Regions from separate parts of the Homo sapiens genome. Here regions 2 and 3 are each linked to region 1. Evidence: promoter capture Hi-C in 16 types of primary human blood cells and fetal thymus (Javierre and others, 2016). All regions are on one chromosome and are shown on one strand. The core of a region is centred on a gene start or on the middle of the fragment in contact, and the rest is flanking DNA. Distances in the headings are between cores, read along the strand shown. Region 1 holds the start of LINC00661 (long intergenic non-protein coding RNA 661). Region 2 holds the start of SYDE1 (synapse defective Rho GTPase activating protein 1). Region 3 holds the start of EPHX3 (epoxide hydrolase 3).

The links. Contacts are between HindIII fragments. The CHiCAGO score rates a contact against its expected background, and 5 or more counts as called.
Region 2: the fragment with the promoter of SYDE1 here is called in contact with the fragment with the promoter of LINC00661 in region 1 in 1 of 17 cell types (total CD8 T cells); the score reaches 5.1 in total CD8 T cells.
Region 3: the fragment with the promoter of EPHX3 here is called in contact with the fragment with the promoter of LINC00661 in region 1 in 4 of 17 cell types (total CD4 T cells, neutrophils, non-activated CD4 T cells and 1 more); the score reaches 7.8 in total CD4 T cells.

The regions. Positions count from the first base shown.
Region 1 is chr19:16,013,845-16,017,283 of GRCh38, forward strand. LINC00661 (long intergenic non-protein coding RNA 661) reads left to right here and starts at 1,790. Exons shown (of 9, transcript NR_026828.1): 1 at 1,790-1,945. It overlaps LOC105372291 (a long non-coding RNA gene), which reads right to left and starts at 1,212. Exons shown (of 2, transcript XR_936355.1): 1 at 1,127-1,212; 2 at 292-541. The HindIII fragment of the contact is 12,039 bases long and covers 1-3,439 here.
Region 2 is chr19:15,105,548-15,108,986 of GRCh38, forward strand. It overlaps SYDE1 (synapse defective Rho GTPase activating protein 1), which reads left to right and starts at 1,854. Exons shown (of 8, transcript NM_033025.6): 1 at 1,854-1,974. The coding sequence starts at 1,887. The HindIII fragment of the contact is 2,464 bases long and covers 1,396-3,439 here.
Region 3 is chr19:15,230,751-15,234,189 of GRCh38, forward strand. EPHX3 (epoxide hydrolase 3) reads right to left here and starts at 1,698. Exons shown (of 7, transcript NM_024794.3): 1 at 1,219-1,698; 2 at 1,026-1,111; 3 at 489-646; 4 at 212-340. The coding sequence starts at 1,461. RefSeq lists an enhancer at 1,448-1,949 and a silencer at 2,288-2,447. The HindIII fragment of the contact is 10,766 bases long and covers 1-3,439 here.

The sequences.
Region 1 (3,439 bases), core at 540-3,039:
GTTGGTCAGTGAGGACATGGTCATTGTGGTCGGCTTAACGGGATCCATTCAATGAGGGTCAGGTCATGGAAAATCTGGTCAGTGGGGTTTGATCAGCAGGGGACTGCTCAGTGGGGATCGGACCAGTGGGGCCTGGTCAGCAGGCGGCCGGCAGTTCCTGGGGCCTGGTCAGTGGGGTCCAGCAGTTGGGACCTGGTTGATTGGAGGGTCCAGCCCTACGGGACTTAGCGGGTGTTCTCCCCGTGTGCAGAGACGAGAGAGCGTAAGAAATAAAGACACAAGACCAAGAGATAAAGAGAAAACAGCTGGGCCCGAGGGACCACTACCATCAAGACGCGGAGACCAGTAGTGGCCCTGAATGGCTGGGCACACTGATATTTATTGCATACAAGACAAGGGGCGTAGGGTCAGGAGGGTGAATCTTCTAAGTGATTGACAAGGTGAAGCAAGTCACGTGATCACAGCACAGGGGGCCCTTCCCTCTTAGGTAGCCGAAGCAGAGAGAGAGAAGGCAGCATACGTCAGCGTTTTCTTCTATGCACTTACAAGAAAGATCAAAGACTGTAAGACTTTCACTATTCCTTCTACCGCTATCTACTACAAATTTCAAAGAGGAACCAGGAGTACGGGAGGAACATGAAAGTGACCATTGGAGCACAGCACCACAAGGAGGGGTTTAGGCCTCCGGATGACTGCGGCAGGCCTAGATAATATCCAGCCTTCCACAAGAAGCTGGTGGAGCAGTGTTCCCTGACTCCTCCAAGGAAAGGAGACTCCCTTTCGCAGTCTGCTAAGTAACGGGCGCCTTCCCAGACACTGGCGTTACCGCTTGACCAAGGAGCCCTCAAGCTGCCCTTATGCACGCGTTGACAGAGGGCTCACCTCTTGCCTTCTAGGTCACTTCTAACAATGTCCCTTCAGCACCTGACCCTCTACCCGCCAGTTATTCCTAGGTTATGTTAGTAACGCAACAAAGAGTAATATTAAAAGCTAATGATTAATAATGTTTATAATAATGATTGATAATTGTCCATGATCATCTCTATATCTAATTTGTATTATGACTATTCTTATTCTAACTATTTTCTTTATTATACTGAAACAGTTTGTGTCTTCAGTCTCTCACCTCGGCACCTGGGTAATCCTCCGCCCACAGTCAATAGGGGTCTGCAGCTGGGGCAAGGTCAGCGGGGATCTGATCAGTGAGACCTAGTCAGGTCTCACTGACTGACTAGGCCCTGGGGGTTGGGGCCTGGCCAGCAAGAGTCCAGTAGTTGGGGCGTGTTTGGCGAGGGTCTCATGGTTGGGGTCTGGCCAGCGGGGGTCCCACAGTTGGGGCCTGGTGAGCAGAGATCTGGCAGTTGCAGCCTCGTCCATGGGGGTCTGGCAGTTGGGGCCTGGTCAGCGGGGTCTTATAGTTGGGGCCTGTTTGGAGGGGGTCCAGCAGTTGGGGCCTGGTCAGAGGGGATACGGCAGCTGGGGGTTATTTGGCAGGGATGCAGCAGCTGGGACCTGGTAGGTGGGGTCTGGCGGTTGGGGCCTGGTCAGTGAGGATCAGATCAGTGCGGTCTAGGCAGTGAGGTCTGGACGCTGGGCCTTCATCTGCATGGGTCTCGCAGTTGGGACCTGGTCAGCAGGGGTCTACCAGTTGGGGCCTGGTTGGCGGAATCAGGCAGTTGGGACCTGGTTGTCGGGGGTCCAACAGTTGGGGCCTGGTCAAAGGGGATCCAGCAGTTGGAACCTGGTCAGCAGGGCTCTGGCAGTTGGGGCCTGGTCATTGGGGTCTGGCAGTTGGGGCCTGGTCAACAGGGGTCCAGGAGCTGAGGCCTGGTTGGTGGGCCGTCTAGCAGTTGAGGCCTGGTCATCTGGGCCCGGCATTTGGGGCCTGATCGGCGGGGATCAGAGCAGTGAGGCCTAGTCAGTGAGGTGTGGATGTGGGGGCCTGGTAAGCAGGGGCCCAGCAGTTGGGGTCTGGTCAGCAGGGGTCTCATAAGAAGAGGCCTGGTTGGCAAGGGTCTGGCAGTTGGGGCTCAGTCAGGAGGGGTCTAGGAGTTGGGGCCCAGTCAGTGGGGTCTGGCAGTTTGGGCTTGATCAGTGCAGTCCAGCAGTTGTTGGGGCCTGGTCAGTGGGGGTCCAGTAGCTGGGACATGGTCAGTGGAGTCCAGCGTCCGGGGCCTGGTTGGCAGGGGTCTGACAGTTGGCGCCTGGTTGGTGGGGATCCCATAGTTGGGGCCTGTCAGCAGGGATCCAGCATTTGGGGCCCAGTCAGTGGGGTTCAGCTTTTGGGGCCTGGTGAGTGGGGTTCAGCATTTGGGGCCTGGCCAGCAGGGGTCCAGCAGTTGTTAGGGCCTGGTCAGCGGGGGTCTGATTAGTGAGATCTATTTGGTGGGGTCCATCAGTTGGGACCTAGTCAGTGAGGGCCGTGAGGGCCTTGTCAGTTGCAGCCTTGTTATTGTGGCCTTTGTCAGTGGTGTCTGATGAGCCAGGGCCTGGTCTGTGGGGCCCAGTCAGCAGGACCTGGTCAGTCCACATCTGGTCAGTGGGACCTGGTCATTGTGGGGGTGGTCAGCTAGGACCTGTTCAGTGGGAGCTTAACCATTGGAAGCCTGGCCAGTGGGATCCTGGGTGATCTCAGGCCACGGGTTAGTCCTCGAAGCCTCCGTGATTGCCTCCATCCATGGGGTGGGGGGTGAGTCACAGCACCCCAGTGGGCTTCTGGGAGGAGGAGGTGAGAGGGTGCATTGCATTGAATCCAGCCCTGCCACACAGACCTGGCACTTTACACACTACGCGAGTCACCCCAAGGGGGAAGCCTGGCTTCTGCCCTCTGCCCTCTGCCCTCTGCCCTTTGCCCTATGTCCCTGCCCCATCTGCATCCCCAGGACCACCCAGCATGGAAAGAGCAGAGGCTGAGGAGCACCTATGGGTGCTCTGATGCTGGCCACAGGCCCGGGGGTGACAGTGACAGGGATCCAGGTGCACACCTGAGTGGAGCAGCCAGGCCCAGCTGGAGGAGAGACGTGTTCACCCACACACATGCATCCTCACATACACAGACAAATTGCACGCATACATGTTGACCATTAAGCGGGCAGAGGACGCTGACCCTGGGCCCTGCTGAGCCAGGTAGGGCCCCGTCATGACAGAGGCTGTGAACCCATGCTGTCACTGTGCCAAGTGCCGCCAGCCTACCTCCGTGTCATGGAGCAGTTGGAGACACAGAGGTGCTGTAAGTGGTTGTGCAGAAAGGACCCTTTTCTGGGTGAGAAGCACATCTCAGCACCGCTGCCTGATCAGACTCAGGAAAGCGTGACCTGCTCTCTTCCCCCCTGCTGACTTGGGGACAGTCACAACCAGGTGGGTGGCAGCTACCCGAGGAGGGTCATCCATGAGCACTCACCGGGTGCCCGTTCTATGCTGACCATGCAAACAGTCGTCT
Region 2 (3,439 bases), core at 604-3,103, 910 kb before region 1:
GTTTCACTCTTGTTGCCCAGGCTGGAATGCAGTGACACAATATTGGCTCCCTGCAACCTCCGCCTCCCGGGTTCAAGAGATTCTCCTGCCTCAGCCTCCCGAGTAGCTGGGATTATAGGCATGCACCACCACCCCCAGCTAATTTTGTGTTTTTAGTAGAGAAGGGGTTTCCCCATGTTGGTCAGGCTGGTCTCGAACTCCCAACCTCAGGTGATCCGCCCGCCTTGGCCTCCCACAGTGCTGGGATTAGAGGCGTGAGCCACCGCACCCAGCCGAGCCCAGGAGTTTGAGACCAGTCTGGGCAACATGATGAGACTCTATCTCTACAAAAAGTAGGGAAATTAGCCAGGTATGGTGACACATGCCTATAGTCCCACTTGCTCGGGAGGCTGAGGCAGGAGCATCACTTGAGCCCAAGAGGCTGAGACTGCAGTGAGCTGTGGTGGTACCACTGCACTCCACCTTGGTCTAGTTTTATATATTTTAGGGAGACATGAGACAGCAATCAATATATGTAAGATGCACATGGGTTTGGTCTGGGAAGGCAGGACAACTCAAAAGTAGGGAGAAGGCTTCCAGGTTATAGGTGGATAAGAGAGAAACAATTGCATTCTTTCGAGTTTCTGACTAGCCTTTCTGAATATGCAATTTACAGAGATAGTCACTTATGCCTTAGTCTGGCTTAGTGAAACAAATAGGTAAGGAAGCGATCAGATATGTGTTTGTCTCATGTGAGCAGAGGGACAATTTTGAGTTCTGCCTGTCCTTCATCCATAAGGAATTTCCTTGTAGGCAAATTGTGGGGGAGGTATGTAGCTTTTTTTTTCTTTTCTTTTCTTCTTTTTTTTTAGACGGCATCTTGCTCTGATGACCAGGCTAGAGTGCAGTGGTGCAATTTTGATTCACTGCAACCTCCACCTCCCGTGTTCAAGCAATTTTCCTGCCTCAGCCTCCCAAATAGCTGGGATTACCAGTGCCCACCCACCATGCCTGGCCAATTTTTTTTCTTTTTCATATTTTTAGTAGAGATGGAGTTTCACCATGTTGGCCAGCCTGGTTTCGAACTCCTGACCTCAAGTGATCCGTCGCCTCAGCCTCCCAAAGTGCTAGGATTACAGGAGTGAGCCACCGCGCCCAGCTAGCTTTTTTAACCTTGTAGCTATCTTACTTAGGAATAGAATGGGAGGCAGGTTTGTCCTACACAGTTACCAGTTTGACTTCTTCCTTTTGGCTCAGTGATTTGGAGGTCTCAAGATTTATTTTCCTTTCACAATCACGACATGGTTGTTTTACATCATTACGTTTGGGGATGGTTTGTCAAACAGCAGTAGTAATTGGAATTTGGAGGTGAGAGAATTGAGTGGGGAAAGAGTGGCATGGGGAGACCAAGGAAGAAGCTTGGGGTGGGGTGGGTAGTGGGGACGGTCATTGAAACGAATGACACTACGGCTTGCACCAGGTTGAAGCAGTACCTGGCAAGGAGAGAGAGGATACGTGGAGGCTGCGATTTGGAGACAGACCCAAGAGAACTTCCTGGATGCCATCACCCAGAGTCCCATCCAGGGAGGGTGGGTGAGGTGGAAGACAAGGGATCGGGCCTGCGCCACGATCGTCACGTCCCATCGAAGCTGGAGCGGATCCGGGCACCCGGAGCCCCCATTCCAACCCCTCCCGGCCCCAGGCAACTACATCTCCCAGCATCGCCCGCTCGGGCCGCGGGAAAGGGGAAAAAAAAAAAAAGTTTGGGCCAAGCATTCCCGGAATGTGCTTCCTGCTGGCGCGGGGCGGGGGGCGGGCGGGGAGGCCCGGGCGGGGCGGGGAGGGCGCGGGGCGGCGCGGCCGGAGCCCGGGGCGCGCACTCGGCTCGGCCCGGCCCGGGCCGCAGCATGGCCGAGCCGCTACTCAGGAAAACCTTCTCCCGCCTGCGGGGCCGGGAGAAACTTCCCCGGAAAAAGTCGGACGCCAAGGAGCGCGGTAAGCGGAGATCGGTGGGGAACAGGGGGCGCCGAGCCCCACCCGGCCTGGGAGCGGGGTCCCAGGGCCCCGAGGACAGACGGTGGGGGGGATCAGGGGGAGCCCCCCGCACCCCGCTGCAGACTGGGGTGCCTCCAGCCAGGGGAGGGTAGGGGTCCTGGAAGGAAGGGGCTGGGAGGGAGGGGGGCGCGGACCGTTATGTGCTGCTGGCCGGGGATGCCAGCGCTGCGGGCTCCTTGGGAGGCCCGGGAGGGGGCCTCGCCCACGACAGGAAATGGGGCCGCGACTGAGGGCCTGGAGGGTGGAGGGGAGGAGGGGCTGGGAGGCCGGGACACTGGGGCCCAGTCGGGCTGGGCAAGGGGCATCGGGAGCCCTGGAGGCGCAGGATGGGAGATGGGAGGCGTACTCCTGCAAAGGAAAGAGAGGGGCGGCCCGTCAATCAGAGTAGCTGCCCCCTCCGCCTCCCACCTACTAACAGTGACGGCAACTGCGCCTGCCTTAGCCCCAGGAAACTGTCCCTTTTATACAGATGGGGAAACTGAGGCACGGAGCAATTGGGTCATGTGCCCAGGGCCATCGACTTAAACAGCTCTTTGGACTATGCTACAAACAGAGACCCTAGAGGGTGGACATCAGAGGTGGCCAGAGGAGGAGTTCAGCAGGGTAGCAAGTAAAAACCTTAGAGAAACAGCTGCGTGGGATAGGGGGACCCAGGAAGGAAGGAGTTAAAGGAGGAAGGCCAGACCATTCCATGGACGTACCCCTTCCCCCCAGGCCTTCCCAAAGATTCCCAATGTTCCCAGGGAAGGGAGAAGGGACAGAGATGCCCAAACACAAACACACACAGGAAACAGCCCAGGACATGAGACAGGAGAGGAGGGAGGGAAGGGGAAGTCCCAAAGCATTGAGCGTGGGGGGTCTGGCCTGGGCTGAGGGACAAGGGCCCATCCCAGGATGGCGACAGAGTTTGGAAGACAGGAGGGAGGGTAAAAGGGGCAGGGGACTGGGAGTGACTGTGCTGCAGGGAATAGAAAACCCAGCTCCTCACTCCTGAGCACGTAGTGCCTGCTGTGGGCTGTATACTTTTCCAAAAGGCTCCTGGAAGCCTCCCTGGACATGGAAATCACATCCCCCCATTTCACAGGAGGATACTGAGCCTCAGAGAGGGAAGCGACTTGCCCAAGGCCACGCAGGTGCAAAGCTCCATGCCACGGTTATTGAGAGGGTAGAGGAAGTGGAGACTGGAACGCAGTACCTACGGGCCCCAGGAAGCCTGACTTAGAACCCTGAGGCTGCAGGGATGGAGTCCCCTTTTGGGATGCCAGGGACTGAGTAGGGGGTGCTCTAAGCTGATAACTGAGATCGCTAGCCTGTGGCTGCCTATTCCAAACAAAACAGCAGGATCCAAGGAACCATGACTTATCAGGGGCCGGCCAGGGCCGTACACAGCATCCCACCCACTGAT
Region 3 (3,439 bases), core at 448-2,947, 780 kb before region 1:
CCGGAGGGCTGGGATTACAGGTGTGAGCCACTGGGTCTGGCGTGTCATTAATTTCCGAATGAGGAGTTCCACAACCGAAGGGACCTGGGTTGATTGCTGCACCCTCAGCCCCTGATGTGTTGACAGGTATACAGAGAATTGAAAACACAGACACATGTCCCTGCCCCCTTGCACATAAGTACATCCCAGTGTCCCGGACTCCCACACACACCTTGGTACACCGACATGGGGGCACCACTGACCACAACCATCCGCTCGACCAGGGATGGGTAGTAGATGGAGAAATGCCAGGCAAGGAGGGCACCCCAGTCATGGGCCACAAGGATGCACTTCGAGTAACCTGTGGGAATTCAAGGAGCTCGCATAAGTGAGGTGCCCAGTAGGACTGAAGCAGGGATGGGGGAAGTAGGTTCCAGCAAGGAGAAAGCGGGGGTATGCGTGTGTGCAGGATGAGGGAGGCCACGCCTAGGATGGGGGTATGTCTGCACCCAGGCCTAGGATGACATCTTTGATGTCCACCAGCAGCAGGTCGATTGTGTAGCAGTCCACATCCCGAGGTGCATCCGAGGGGCCATAGCCTCGCAAGTCCACAGCCACAACATGGAAGCGGCTCTGGAACTCCCGGAGCTGGTAACGCCAGGAGAACCTGCCAGGCGGGCGAGGGAGGGAGGCTGAGTCAGGGCCCTCAGGTTGCACCTGCACCCTACGCACATCAGCAACCATTGGCAAACCCTCCTTCCTGCTCTAAACTTCCCCTAAAAGGAGGATGGGGAATCCCAGGCAGAGGCAGAGGCTGAGGCTGAAGCCAGCTACACCCTGAATCCAGGGAACTTCAATCAACCTCAATACCCCTTTGTCCTGTCCCTTCAGGGCCTAGGGATCCTGGGTATGCTGGCTCAGTACCCCTATCCCCATCTATGTTCAGCTTGTCCCGATCTATACAGCCCTCCTCCCTGCCTCTTGGGAGCCCAAGCTCCACCTGCCCCCGAGTCCCGTGGGCCTCAGGCCCCTGGCCCCAGACGTACCAGTTCTCAGGGAAGCCGTGCAGAAACAGCATGAGGGGTCCGTTACCTCGTCCAGCCGAGACATAGTGCAGACGCAGGCCCGAGCTCTAGGGGGAGGGCACAGCCTGAAGCCTGGGGAACCCTCTCTCCCGAGGCTTGAACCGTCTCGACCCCACGCGACCCCGCAGCCCCGATAGCGCCCCCGTGCGATCACCTTGAGGTTCAGGAAACCGTGCTCACCCAGCGAGGGGTCGCTCAGGCAGGCGGGGGACGCGCTCCGACGGCGCCCGCAGCAGCCGCGCCGGGGCCGGCACAGCACGTGCGTGAGCGCTATGCAGCCGTAGACCGCCGCGGCCACCAGCGCCACCGAGAACACCAGGCTCCACATGAAGGCGCGCAGCAGCTTCAGCGACAGGCGCGACGGCGCCAGCAGCGCGGTCACCACCAGCTCCGGCATGTCGCCGCGCTCCGGGACCACGGCGGCGCTGCCGGCCAGGGGCACCTGCAGCAGCGGCGAAGCGGTGTCAGGGCTCAGGGGCCCATCGCCCTTGGCCTGGGGCCCCTCCGTGCCGTCGGGATTTGTGGGACGCGCTGAAGGAAGAGGCGGGCGGCTCCGACAGAAAACAGCCAGAGCGCACCACTCACCTGAGTGCCAGGTAAACACCTGGGCGCGACAGGGACAGGAAACAAGGGTAGGGTGCGGAGGCTGGGGAGGAAGAGGTTGGAAAGGGGGGAAATAAATGGGCGGGGCCTAGCAGGTCCTGTGCGGGGCTTAGGGCCGGGGCGGGGCCCAGGAAGACTCAGCAGCGGGTGGGTGAGGGTCTAAAGGCGGCAATTCCGGGCCGGGTGCGGTGGCTCACGCCTGTAATCCCAGCACTTTGGTAGGCCGAGGCGGGCGGATCACCTGAGATCAAGAGCTCGAGACCAGCCTGGGCAACGTGGTGAAACCCCGTCTCTACTAAAAATACAAAAATTAGCTGGGCGTGGTGGCGGGCGCCTGTAGTCCCAGCTACTTGGGAGGCTGAGGCAGGAGAATCGCTTGAACCCGGGACGTGGAGGTTGCAGTGAGCTGAGATCGCGCCACTGTACTCCAGCCTGGGTCACAACAGGGAAACTCCGTCTCAAAAAAGAAAAAAAAAAAAGGCAATTCCGAGCCCAGACAAACCTTAAGGAGGGGATCCTGGATCTTCAGTTAAGTGGGCGACACCTGGAGTGAGGGGCGGGGCATATGCAGAGTAGGTGCGGCCTACAAGCCAAAAAGGAGAAAGAGTTGGAATGGTGGGCCTGGCTTATGCGGGTGGGCGGGGAGAGGGTGGATCCTAGAGGAGGTGAGGCCTAACATTGGGCGAAGAAGGCGGGAGCCTGGGCCAATGAGCTGACGGTAGGCCGGGGAGGGGGCGGTGGGGTGGGGTGGGCAATGGGCAATGAGACGGAGGGCGGGGCCGGGACCTAATATGGCGGGTCAGGAGGGTCTGGAAGACGAAGAAGAGGGACAGGCAATGCCAGGTCTAGGACTAGGAGGGAGGCGCGGGCGGTATTAGCGGCTGGAGGAGGCTTCGGGAGGCCCGGCCGACGGCCGCCGCCTGGTGCTACCCACCCAGGGGCGCGCGACCCTCCCTTCGGTCTGGCTCCAAAGACCTAGCAGCACTGACTTCACCCAGCTGTGGTTCCAACGGCGGGTCCAGCGGCCTCGGCCCGGCGCCGTCCTCCTGCTGGCCCAACAGGCCCGCCAGCCCGCCCCTGTACGTCTGTGATTGGACGGCGGCGGCCACTGATGTTCAAGCGACAGGTCCTGGCCCGGGAGCCAATCTGCAGGTGTTGAGGCCCAGGCTCCGAGAGCGGGCCGAGGAGGCGTGGATACCCTGATTCCTAGGGGGCAGGCCTGGTTCCCCCGAGGAGGACCCGGCCTATGAATGACTGGAGTTCTGGGGTTCTGGCCGAAAGAGGAAGTGGGACAGGGCCGGGTGTGATGGGGCCTAGAGTCACAGAGCCTTGCGGCCCTGCTGTCCCTGCAAGAAGCCAGCTTCTGGCCAGGCGCGGTGGCTCACGCCTGTAATCCCAGCACTTTGGGAGGCCGAGGCGGGCGGATCACGAGGTCAGGAGATCGAGACCATCCTAACATGGTGAAACCCTGTCTCTACTAAAAATACAAAAAATTAGCCAGGCGTGGTGGCGGGCGCCTGTAGTCCCAGCTACTAGGGAGGCTGAGGCAGGAGAACGGCGTGAACCCAGGAGGCGGAGGTTGCAGTGAGCTGAGATTGCGCCACTGCACTCCAGCCAGGGCGACAGAGCGAGACTCCGTCTCAAAAAAAAAAAAAAAAGCAGCCAGCTTCTTCCTCCTATTTTGCAACCTTCTCCCGATATCCTTGAACATTTTAGGGACAGCCATCACTTAACCATAGAGCAACCCTATTAAGTCTAAGTAGCATAATCAC